2 separate regions of the Homo sapiens genome follow, and region 1 is linked to region 2. Evidence: promoter capture Hi-C in 16 types of primary human blood cells and fetal thymus (Javierre and others, 2016). All regions are on one chromosome and are shown on one strand. Each heading gives the region's core, a stretch centred on a gene start or on the middle of the fragment in contact. The rest is flanking DNA. Distances are from core to core; before and after follow the strand shown. Region 1 overlaps ATP13A3 (ATPase 13A3). Region 2 holds the start of TMEM44-AS1 (TMEM44 antisense RNA 1).

What was found. Contacts are between HindIII fragments. The CHiCAGO score rates a contact against its expected background, and 5 or more counts as called.
Region 1: a fragment that was not itself captured here is called in contact with the fragment with the promoter of TMEM44-AS1 in region 2 in 1 of 17 cell types (erythroblasts); the score reaches 5.2 in erythroblasts.

Annotation. Positions count from the first base shown.
Region 1 is chr3:194,414,641-194,420,195 of GRCh38, forward strand. ATP13A3 (ATPase 13A3) reads right to left here. Exons shown (of 34, transcript NM_001367549.1): 31 at 5,239-5,327. Among named protein-coding and RNA genes, the nearest start is that of GP5, 18 kb to the left of the region's middle. The HindIII fragment of the contact is 188 bases long and covers 2,521-2,708 here.
Region 2 is chr3:194,580,229-194,585,517 of GRCh38, forward strand. It overlaps TMEM44-AS1 (TMEM44 antisense RNA 1), which reads left to right and starts at 4,040. Exons shown (of 3, transcript NR_047575.1): 1 at 4,040-4,220. RefSeq lists enhancers at 3,306-3,971, 4,007-4,056 and a silencer at 3,557-3,816. The HindIII fragment of the contact is 5,912 bases long and covers 2,142-5,289 here.

The sequences.
Region 1 (5,555 bases), core at 1,365-3,864, 170 kb before region 2:
AAGAAAACTGAAAGAATCTAACAAATGGCTGGCTACGGAAAGAGGAAGAAAAGGCACAGATAAATAGACACACACGCATGTACACAAGCATGCACACTTCTGACTTGAATAAATAGTGGTACCAAGAAACAGAGAAGAAAAAGGGTTGAAGGAGAACATGATGAGCTTAGTTCTTAAAATGTTTAAATTGAGGGATCTGTTGGGTGGAACACCCAAGTAACAGTCAATATATCAGTGTATTTGCAGGTCTAAAGCTTAGTAGTGAGGTAGGCTCAGGGTATAAAGGTTGGGAGCCTTTAACATATAGATGGTGATTACAGGTGAAGCCATGACTCTAGGGGATATCACCAGAATGTATTGAGTGACCAGAGGAATAAGAACAGAAATGTAAGGAACCCTAACATTTAAGGAATGGGCAGAGGGAGTGGAGCCAAAGTGGAAAATGAGACTGGAGAGTCAGAGCTAAGAAAAGGCCAAAAGACAGCAAAGCATCACAAAATTTCAGAAGAGAGTATCTTAAGAATGATGACATGGCTAACTCGTCAAATACTGCTGGGGAGTCAAGTAAGACTGGAAAAAAATACATTAGGGAGAAAAGTCCATTGGACTTAACAAGTAAGAGGCTAACGGCCTTGCTGAGGGCCGTTTCAGTAGATTGGCAGGGGAAGATGCCAGATTAGTTGACGAACGTGTGGGAGGTGAGCTGAATGTGGTACTATTTCAAGAAAAAGTTGGTTGTGAAACAGAAGACATGTGCACCAGGAGAGAAATATAATGCATTTTGTTTTCTTCTTTTACTGTAAGTGCTTATCTAAACCCCTCAATGAAATATGCAGGGAAACAGACATATACTGCTGGTAAGACTACAACCTGGAACATCTTCAAAGTTCAATAATGCAGAATTTATGAAAATTAAATTTATAGATACCCTCAGACCAAGCAATTCCACTTTTGCATATTTAGCCTATAAATATATATTTGTCTGTAACTGAAGTGTGCAAGGATTTACAATACCACATTCTTTTTTTTTTTTTTTTTTTTTTTTTTGAGACGGAGTCTCGCCCTGTCGCCCAGCCTGGAGTGCAGTGGTGTGATCTTGGCTCACTGCAAGCTCCGCCTCCCGGGTTCACACCATTCTCCTTACAATACCACATTGTTTCTAATAGCAAAACACTGGAACCAACCTAAATATCCAGCAAAACAGGACTAAACAAATTACTAAAAAGTCCCTGCAATGGAATACTCATTTCACAAACTTTGTAAGTTTAAGTTATATAACTTTAAGATCAAACCTGTCCGTAACATACAAGAAAAGAAAATTAAATCTGATCTCATTCATGCAGAGGCAAAAATCCAAAACAAAATCATAGCAACCTAAATCCAAATTTCAAAGAGTGTGCATCATGACCAAACTGAATTTATTCTAGAAATGCAAAGTTAGTTCAATATTTGAATACTGATCAGCTATAATTCATCACATTCTTCAGGGAGAAAAACTGTGTGACCATTTCAATAGCTGCAGAAAAAGCATTAGATTGGCTGGGCACAGTGGCTCACACCTGCAATCCCAGCACTTTGGGAGGCCACGGTGGGTGGATCGTGAGGTCAGGAGTTCGATACCAGTCTGGCCAGATGGTGAAATCCCATCTCTACTAAGAACACAAAAACTTAGCCAGGCATGGTGGCACACGCCTGTAATCCCAGCTACTTGGGAGGCTGAGGCAGGAGAATTGCTTGAACCCGGGAGGTGGAGGTTGCAGTGAGCCGAGATCATGCCACTGCACTCCAGCCTGGGCGACAGAGCGAGACTCCATCTCAAAAAAAAAAGCATTAGATAAAAATTTAAAACCACTTATGTTAACAACACTGTACAACTAAGGAAGCTTCCTTAACCTGATAAAGACTATACACTAGAAATATACAGCAAACAGTTTATCTAATGGTGAACTATTAGGAACACGTCCTTTAGAGACAAGAGTAAGACAAGGATATCACTATCACTATAACTAATATATTAAGACATGAAAAATACAGAAAAAGCACATAAAGACTGTGAAATGTCAGAAACAAACTGCTGGGGAGTCAAGTAAGTAATTACAGCTTGTAATTACTTATATATGATGCCTGTCTAAACAGAAAATCCTAGACAATCTAAAATGTGTCTGAATAAAGTCTGATAAGGCTTCTGGGAACAAGATGAATATCTAAAACAACTGTATTGAGTTCAACAACATAAAAAATTAGAAAATGTCATTTTAATTATAATTTATCAAGGGATCAAAAACTGTTATTACTCTAAGAATCTAACAAAAAATGTACAAAAACCATTAGGGAGAAAACTATCTGACTTACTGAAAGACATTAGGTCAAAAAGACAGAAACAGAACGAGATACTGTTTGTGGGAAGGAAAACTAATGAATTCACCCTCAAAATTTATTGATCAACTCTGTGTAATTCTAATAGTTCCGAAAGGGCTTTTCCTGGTATTTGACAAACTAAACTTAAAAGTTAAGAAGAAAAGCTTAGCTGGGCACAGTGGCTCACCAAGGCAGGGAGCTCACCCGAGGTCAAGAGTTCAAGACAAGCCTGGCCAACATGGTGAAAACCCATCTCTACTAAGAATAGAAAAAATTAGAGCCAGGCGTTGTGGCAGGTGCCAGCTACTCGTGAGGCCGAGGCAGGAGAATCGCTTGAATCCGAGAGACAAAGCTTGCAGTGGGCTGCACTCCAGCCTGGGTACCAGAGCCAGATTCTGACACACACACACACACACACACACACACACACACACACACACACACACAAAAGGAGGAAGAAGGAAAGCTCAAGCACAGCCAAAAAGGTCATGATGAACAACAATGTGAGAGGGGGGTAGGAGTCCTACCCAAGCATGTATCAAGGTTTCTTATAAAGTCATGGTAGCATGGACAATATAGTACTGGCACAAATAAAGAGAACTAAACAACAAAATATGGAGTCCCTAAAACACTATTAGTCATATATATGGAAAACTGTGGCCAGGCGCCATGGCTCATGCCTGTAATCTTAATACTTTCGGAGGCTGAGGCAGGAGGATCACTTGAGCCCAGGAGTTGGGGGTCAGACTGGGCAACACAGTGAAACCCCATTACAAACCCCATTTATAATTTTTATTACAAAAAATTTTAAAATTTGCTGGGTGTGGTGGTGCACAACTGTGGTCCCAGCTACTCAGGAGGCTGTGGTGGGAGGACCACTTGAGCCCAGGAGGTCGAGGCCACAGTGAGCTGAGATCATACCACTGCACTGCAGCGTGGGTGACAGACAGACGGACGGACGGAAGGAAGGAAGGAAGGAAGGAAGGAAGGGAGGGAGGGAGGGAGGGAGGAGAGGGGAGGCGGGGGAGGAAGGAAAGAAGGAATGAAGGAAGGAAGGAAGGAAACTGATATAAGACAAAGGTATCACTGAATATCAGTGGCAAAGACAAACTTCAATAAGCAATTGCTGAAACAAATGGGTATGCGTAAGAGAAAAAAAGAAAAAGAAATTTGATCCCTATTCAAAAGCTATACATAAAATTAATTCCAGATGGATTAAAGACTAAATGTGAGAGTATCTTTATAACTTTGAGATGGACAAGTCCGCCAAACTGAGACACGAGGAACAAATAAAGAAAGAAATTAATAAATTTGCCATGTCAGACTATAAGTTTGTTTTTTAAAAAGAGATATTATAAACAAAGTAAAAAGACAAGCCACAAACTGGGAGAAGATATTTATCACTATACAGTCAAATATAATACATTAAGAACTCTGAAAACTAAGTTTTAAAAAAAAGACAACATCCTAAAAATTTTTAAAAAAGACAACATCCTAGAAAAAATTGGCCAAAGGCATGAATAGGCAGTTCACAGAGAAAATAAAAATGGCCATTAAACACATGAAAAAATGCTCAACTCCATTAGTAAAGTTAATGAGCAAAGTAAAACCATCATGATATAACATTTTACACCCACTGGACAAGACCAAGTGTTGGCAATGATGTGAAACAACAGGATGTCAAACACTGATGGATGATTGATACAATCACTTTGGAAAACAACTTGGCACGTGGTAGCTGAAGAGTACATGCTCATCATGATACCAGAATACAGCAGAGGAAACTTTTGTCCCTAATGGTTTGCCAAGGGTAGTAGTGGAAGGAGTATATTACCACTGGAAGTGTCTGGAATTACCAGCACATGGCAATATTTAAAAAGCAGATGGACTTCTACTGGGCTTAATCACTGTTTGCAAATTCTCTACAGCATCGCACCACTCTCTCACTGCTTGTACCTGGGATAAACCACTCCTACTCCACTCTTTCATACACTATTACTTACCCCCATACACTGAAAGACATGTAAAAATATGTTCATAGCAGCAATATGTTCAGTAATTATTTACCAACAGAGGATGGAGAAATGAATTTAATATATTCCTACAATTGTATACTATACAGCAATGAAAATAAAATAATGTATCAACAAACAATGTTGATGGGAGAATGCAAGTCACAGAAAAAAGGGAACAAGATAACATTTTCATGAAGTTCAAGAGCACACAAAACTATCTTTTATGACTGCAAACATATATGGTAAGTATATAATGAAACAGGGAATGACAGGGAAAATCATCAAAACAGGTACATGAGAGTGCCTTATTGATTGGTAACGTTACCTTTTTTTTGTTTTCTTTTGTCACTGACTTGTGCTCAGGTAATGTTCATTTTTTCAGGTTGGATGATACACTCAGGGTGTTATCTCTTTACTATTTTTTAATTATGGCTAACAACTTAAATATGTGTGCATATTCTTTTGTATGAAAAACAAGTATTTCATTACTCAGAAAGTTTTTAATGAAAAGAATTGAAGAACTAAATGGCCAAAACACAAAAGGGAGCATGTGTAGACTACTCAAGAAGTAGACTGGTAGAGAAGAGAGGAGTAACAGGTACCAGGATCAACGTTTTTTTATGTTTTTAAAGACCAAGGGCTATTTAATTTGTTTGCAGACAAATGAAAACGGCACCAGAAGCAGAGATTAAACAGGTATAGCTAAGAAAAGCTGCTATTTTCATTAGGTTCTTTATTCTCTGTAGAGTATCTTTGGGTTAATATAACAGCATCTTAGAATACACAAAAAGAAGAGATCCTGGAAAAAAAGAAATGTATACAGGTTAGTCTTTTTCCCCAAACAAATGATGTGCTTAAGTCTTACCTGAAGAACCTGGTCAACAGAGGCAACTGGATACAACATGATGAATAATATAAAAATATATAAAAAAATCACAGAAAAAACAAAAAAATCTGGAAAAGACAGCAAAAGTAAAACAAGTAAATTAGGAAATTCCTTTATATAAAAAGGCATCCAATAACAGCTGGTATACTGTCATTTGTAAATTTGGTTTTGAATACTTTCACTTCAGTTGATGGAATAAAGTATGTGCTCTGTTATCTCCTGGAGTATGAGACATTGTTCGGGGCACCCAAAAGATTCACATACACAACGTGATGTTATGTTTAAACTCCATTAAC
Region 2 (5,289 bases), core at 2,790-5,289:
TCGAACTCCTGACCTCAGGTGATCCACCTGCCTCGGCCTCCCAAAGTGCTGGGATTACAGGCGTGAGCCACGCCTGGCGAGAATCTTTCTTTACTCCTGTTCTTTCTCACCCAGCTGGCTTTGAAAAACTTCCAACCTACAGAAAAGATGAAAGAATAACGAACATGTTTATGCTATTCGCCTAGATTAATCCATTGTTCCCGTTTTTCCGTTTGCTTTGTCTCTCTCCAACTACCTGAAAAATTTATAATTTTTTTCTGCTGAAATATTTAAAAGTCAGTTGCTTGGGGCCAGGTGCGGTGGCTCACACCTGTAATCCCAGCACTTTGGGAGGCCAAGGCGGGAGGATCACGAGGTCAGGAGATCGAGACCATGGTGAAACCCCGTCTCTACTAAAAATACAAAAAAAAATTAGCCAGGCATGGTGGCAGGCGCCTGTAGTCCCAGCTACTCAGGAGGCTGAGGCAGGAGAATGGTGTGAACCCGGGAGGCGGAGCTTGCAGTAAGCCGAGATCATGCCACTGCACTCCAGCCTGGGCGAGAGAGCGAGACTCTGTCTCAAAAAATAAAAATAAAAAATAAAAAATAAAAGTCAGTTGCCAAATCACGGTGCTTCACTCCTAAGTAGTTCAGCATGTATATCCAAAGGGGCGTTCTCCTGTGCAACCATAATATTATTAAGAAAGGAAACAATAAAGTTAGCTAATACACTGTACATATTCAAATTTGCTCAATTGTCCCAGTAATCCCATATAGCTCTCCCACCCCATCCCCACTGCAGACTCCTTTAAACTAGAACAGTTCTCTTAAGATGTATTTAAGTATTTCCACAGTCAAGAAACATCTACTACAAAAATCCACATAATCTTTTTACAACAGAATCTAATGACTTCTAAGACTTTTCTGATCTATCAAAATTTTTCTTATAATTGTGAATGGTGGCTCAAGCTCTCTTGTGTTCTACCTTTACTAGTTTACATTATGGTTTTGTTTTTTTTTTGAGACAGAGTTTTGCTCTGTTGCCCAGGCTGGAGTGCAGTGATCACTGCAACCTCCGCCTTCTGGATTCAAGCAATTCTCCTGCCTTAGCCTCCCGAGTAGCTGGGATTACAGGCGTGTGTCTAATTTTTGTATTTTTAGTAGAGACGGGGTATTCACCATGTTGGCCAGGCTGGTCTTGAACTCCTGACCTCAGGTAATCTGCCCCCACTTGGCCTCCCAAAGTACTGGGATTACAGGGGTGAGCCACTGCACCCGGCCTATTAGCTGACATTATCTTTCATAATTTTTTTTTTTTTTTTTTTACTGTGTGTGAACTGAGAATTCATGCTGTGAGAACAGGCAAAGCCACTCAGGCACTGCAGTAGATGATTTCAAGGTAATTCATGTCTGTTCTTCAATCCATGGTTCTGTGATATTTTAGGTTTAATGGCAAAATGTCATTTCTTCATTAAAGCATAATGTTTGGGCCAGGTGTGGTGGATCATGCCTGTAGTCCCAGCGCTTTGGGAGGCCGAGGAAGGTGGATCACTTGGGGTCAGAAGTTCAAGACCAGCCTGGCCAACATGGCGAACCCCGTCTCCACTAAAAATACAAAATGTAGCCAGTCATGGTGGCACGCGCCTGTAGTCCCAGCTACTCGGGAAGCTGAGGCAGGAGAATCGCCTGAACCCAGGAGGCAGAGGTTGCAATGAGCTGAGATGGCACCACTGCATTCCAGCTTGGGCAACAGAGACAGACTCCATCTCAAAAAAAAAAAAAAAAAAGTATGTTTAATTCTGCACAACAGTGGGGTTTGGGAGCTTTATCACTTTTTTTTTGTTTGTTTGCTATTCTAAGTAGTTTTGTGAGAACATCTCATACAAATAGATCTGTTTTAAAAGTAATTTCCCGGCTGGAGTGGTGGCTTGTGCCTGTAATCCCAGTACTTTGGGGGACCAAGGCAGGAGGATCTCTGGAGCCCAGGAGTTCGGAACCAGCCTGGGCATCATAGTGAGACTCCGTCTCTGTATTTGAAAATGATAACAAAATACCAAGAAGAGATGGAAAAAGTAAATACATAAAAGCAATTTCCCGAGGACAGTGTTTTTCAGAGACTGGTCCTGGACCATCTGTAGCAGAATCACCTGAGGAGCCTGCTAAGCTTCCCAAGCCCTGCCCAGACCTAGGGAATCCTCCGGGTGGAGCCTAAGAGTCTACATTTGAGTATCAGGGCTTTAGGCTATACTGGCTAGCAGAAGGTAAGGCCCATGAAATGGCCCTTTTCATCCATGGCCATGCTGTCCTTGGGAAAGATGGTGGTGGCCGCCGTGTATGACGTCCCTTGTTCCAGCTGTGGGTTTAGAGAATCCCTCAGATTTCCTCTGGAGATTCCAGGTGCCAAGACACCTGTAGGAGGAAGGCCGGAAGGGAAAGGTCAAGTCCGGAGCAGAGGCGTGGACCGCGGCAGGCTGCTGTTGGAGCGTGCTGGGCTCAGAAGCCGGGTTCTAGCTAGGAAACTGCGGAGTGGCCAAGGAGTTCCTGGCGCGAGGCACGCCACACAACCCTCGGATGCGAAGACGGTGACCATCCATTTCTCAATACGCCAGTGGCCCTGCCGTGCTACTGAGCCTCGTCAGCCTGTATAATGGAAGCTGAAGATGATGCAGCTCAGGAAAAGCAAGTATGATCTTAAGAACCCTGTAGCTGGAAAGCATGTTCCAAATCAAACCTAATGGAGACAACTACTAGAAGGTATAAAAGTTTTTTTTTTTTTTGAGACAGAATTTTGCTCCTGTTGCCTAGGCTGGAGTGCAGTGGCGCGGTCTCAGCTCACTGCAGCCTCTGCCTCGCCGGTTCAAACGATTCTCCTGCCTCAGCCTCCCAAGTAGCTGAGACTACAGGCGCCCACCACCACGCCCGGCTACTTTTTGTATTTTTGGTAGGGACGGGGTTTCACCATGTTGGCCAGACTGATCTCAAACTCCTGACCTCAGATGATCCGCCCGCCTCACCCTCCCAAAGTGTTGGGATTACAGGCGTGAGCCACCGCGCCCAGCCCAAAAGATTTTAAAAAGGAGTCTCTTGGAGGCAAAGGGACAGAACATTATTGTTTTTCATCATAAACCTTTTGGTGCAATCTGATTTTCTTTTTTTAAACCATGTACTTGCACTATTTTTATCTCAAAAAAGGTTTTTAATGCATTTAAAAACAAAGAAAAGAATGGTTTATAATACACCGTTAGGCTTCTGGGAGGTCTGAAACACACTATGAACCGTAAAATAACCTTGTAATTATCTCCTTAAAAACCGAGTGGGGTGGGCCAGGCGTGGTGGCTCACGCCTGTAATCCCAGCACTTTGGGAGGCCGAGGCGGGCGGATCACGAGGTCAGGAGTTCGAGACCAGCCTGACCAACATGGTGAAACTCCGTCTCCACTAAAAATACAAAAATTAGCCGGGCGTCGTGGCGCGCCCCTGTAGTCCCAGCTATTCAGTCGCAGAAGAATCGCTTGAATTCGGCAGGCGGAGGCTGCAGTCAGCAGAGACCGCGCCACTGCATTCCAGCCTGGGCGACAGAGACTCCGTCTCAAATAAACAAACCAAAACTGAACTACGGAGACGCCCTCGACAGTTCTTTCCCGGCTGCGTCGCCGCTGGCTGAGGTCAGAAACGCCGGCCTTCGGCTGCGGCGGCGGCTGCGGCGGCGGGGCGGGGCCGCGGGACTCTCGCTCCTCGCGGGAGGCGGTGGCTGCGGAGTGCGCACGCGCGGAACCGCAATTCCGTTCTTCCCGGAAGTGCCCTGCTGGTGCTGGGAGTAGGGCGCAAGATGTCGGCGGATGCAGCTCCGAGGAGGTAGGCAGTGGGAGCCGGCGTTCAGTCCGGCCCGTGCCAACAGTGGTTCCTCTCTCCCCCGTAGTTCGAGGAGACCACGCGCTGCCCCTCTGGCACGATCGTGGATGAACCCCCTGGCAACTGAAATGGGAAAGGCAGCGCCCCCGACTCTGGGGACTGGACCGAAGTCCACGGTAGTGACAGCTGCCAGACCCTGAGGAGAGGACGAGAAGACCCGAGGCCTCTGCTACGAACACTGGCAGCCGATGGAAAATTCAGACGGATTTGGGACAGTATGCAGAGTTCTCCAAGCGACAGATTAACAGAGGCTCTTGAAGAATAACTGCGTAATCACGTGTTCTGCTCAAAAGAAGGCCTGAATGCCCAGTGCCTTATTTGGCTTTCAGGGTTGGTGAAAGAAAAAGCAAAGTAGATGCTTTCTAATGCTAAGTCATTTAATGTAGCACCATTCCTTGAACTTCTTTCATCTCTAAGGTCGTCCCTTTCACCTGATGATGACCTTTGGGCCATCGTACAGGCATGTGTAAACTTGGAGATCTTCCTCAACATTGCACCATATCTTGGGTTCATTCAAGGCAGAGTCTCCTTGCAAAAGCATTCTAAAACAATGTAAAGTCGAAGAGAGTAGAGCAATACCTCCATAGTTGGAAAATGTGGAGGAGGCCAATTAAGGGACAGAAAAAGAAGTGCAGAGAATCTTGGAATTGTTGCAAAATTATTCTGGAGATATTTCTAAGTCTCCTCTATCCTTTTCCTTAGTGATTAATACAGGTTTTTATATTAAGTGGACAGTAAAATCCAAACAGAAAGAGGTATATGTCGTATAATGAAGCCTATGTTCAAAGTATATCTGAAATTTGTTTTTATAATGTCTTTCTTGAGAGCTTATAAAGATGTCAGTATTCTGTGGGAAACAAATTGGCACATGCATAAAAGAGAAAAAATGAAAAAAATCAGGCCCAACTTTCAGTTTACAGATGAGGAAACTGTGACATAGAAAAGGAAATGACAAAGATCACACTGAATCAGACCTGGGAACTGGAGCCCAGCCATGCTCCTTGGCCCAGTGCCTCTTCTTATTCTAGGAGCTCATACCCCTTTGAAAGAAACATAATATGAATGTGTCTTCAAATGATGCTCATAAATCTCTTCATCATACTGAGGGAGGGAGATAAGGGGATTAGTTCTTCAGGATCTAGACAGGCTTTCAAGAAAATCTTTAGCTGGGTGCGGTGGCTCATTCGTGTAATCCCAGCGCTTTGGGAGGCTGAGGCAGGTGGATCACCTGAGGTCAGGAGTTCCAGATCAGGCTGGCCAACAGCGTCTCTACTAAAAATACAAAAATTAGCCAGGCATGGTGGCGGGAGCCTGTAATCCCAGCTACTCGGGAGGCTGAGGCAGGAGAATCGCTTGAACCTGGGAGGCGGAGGTTGCAGTGAAGTGAGATCGTGCCATT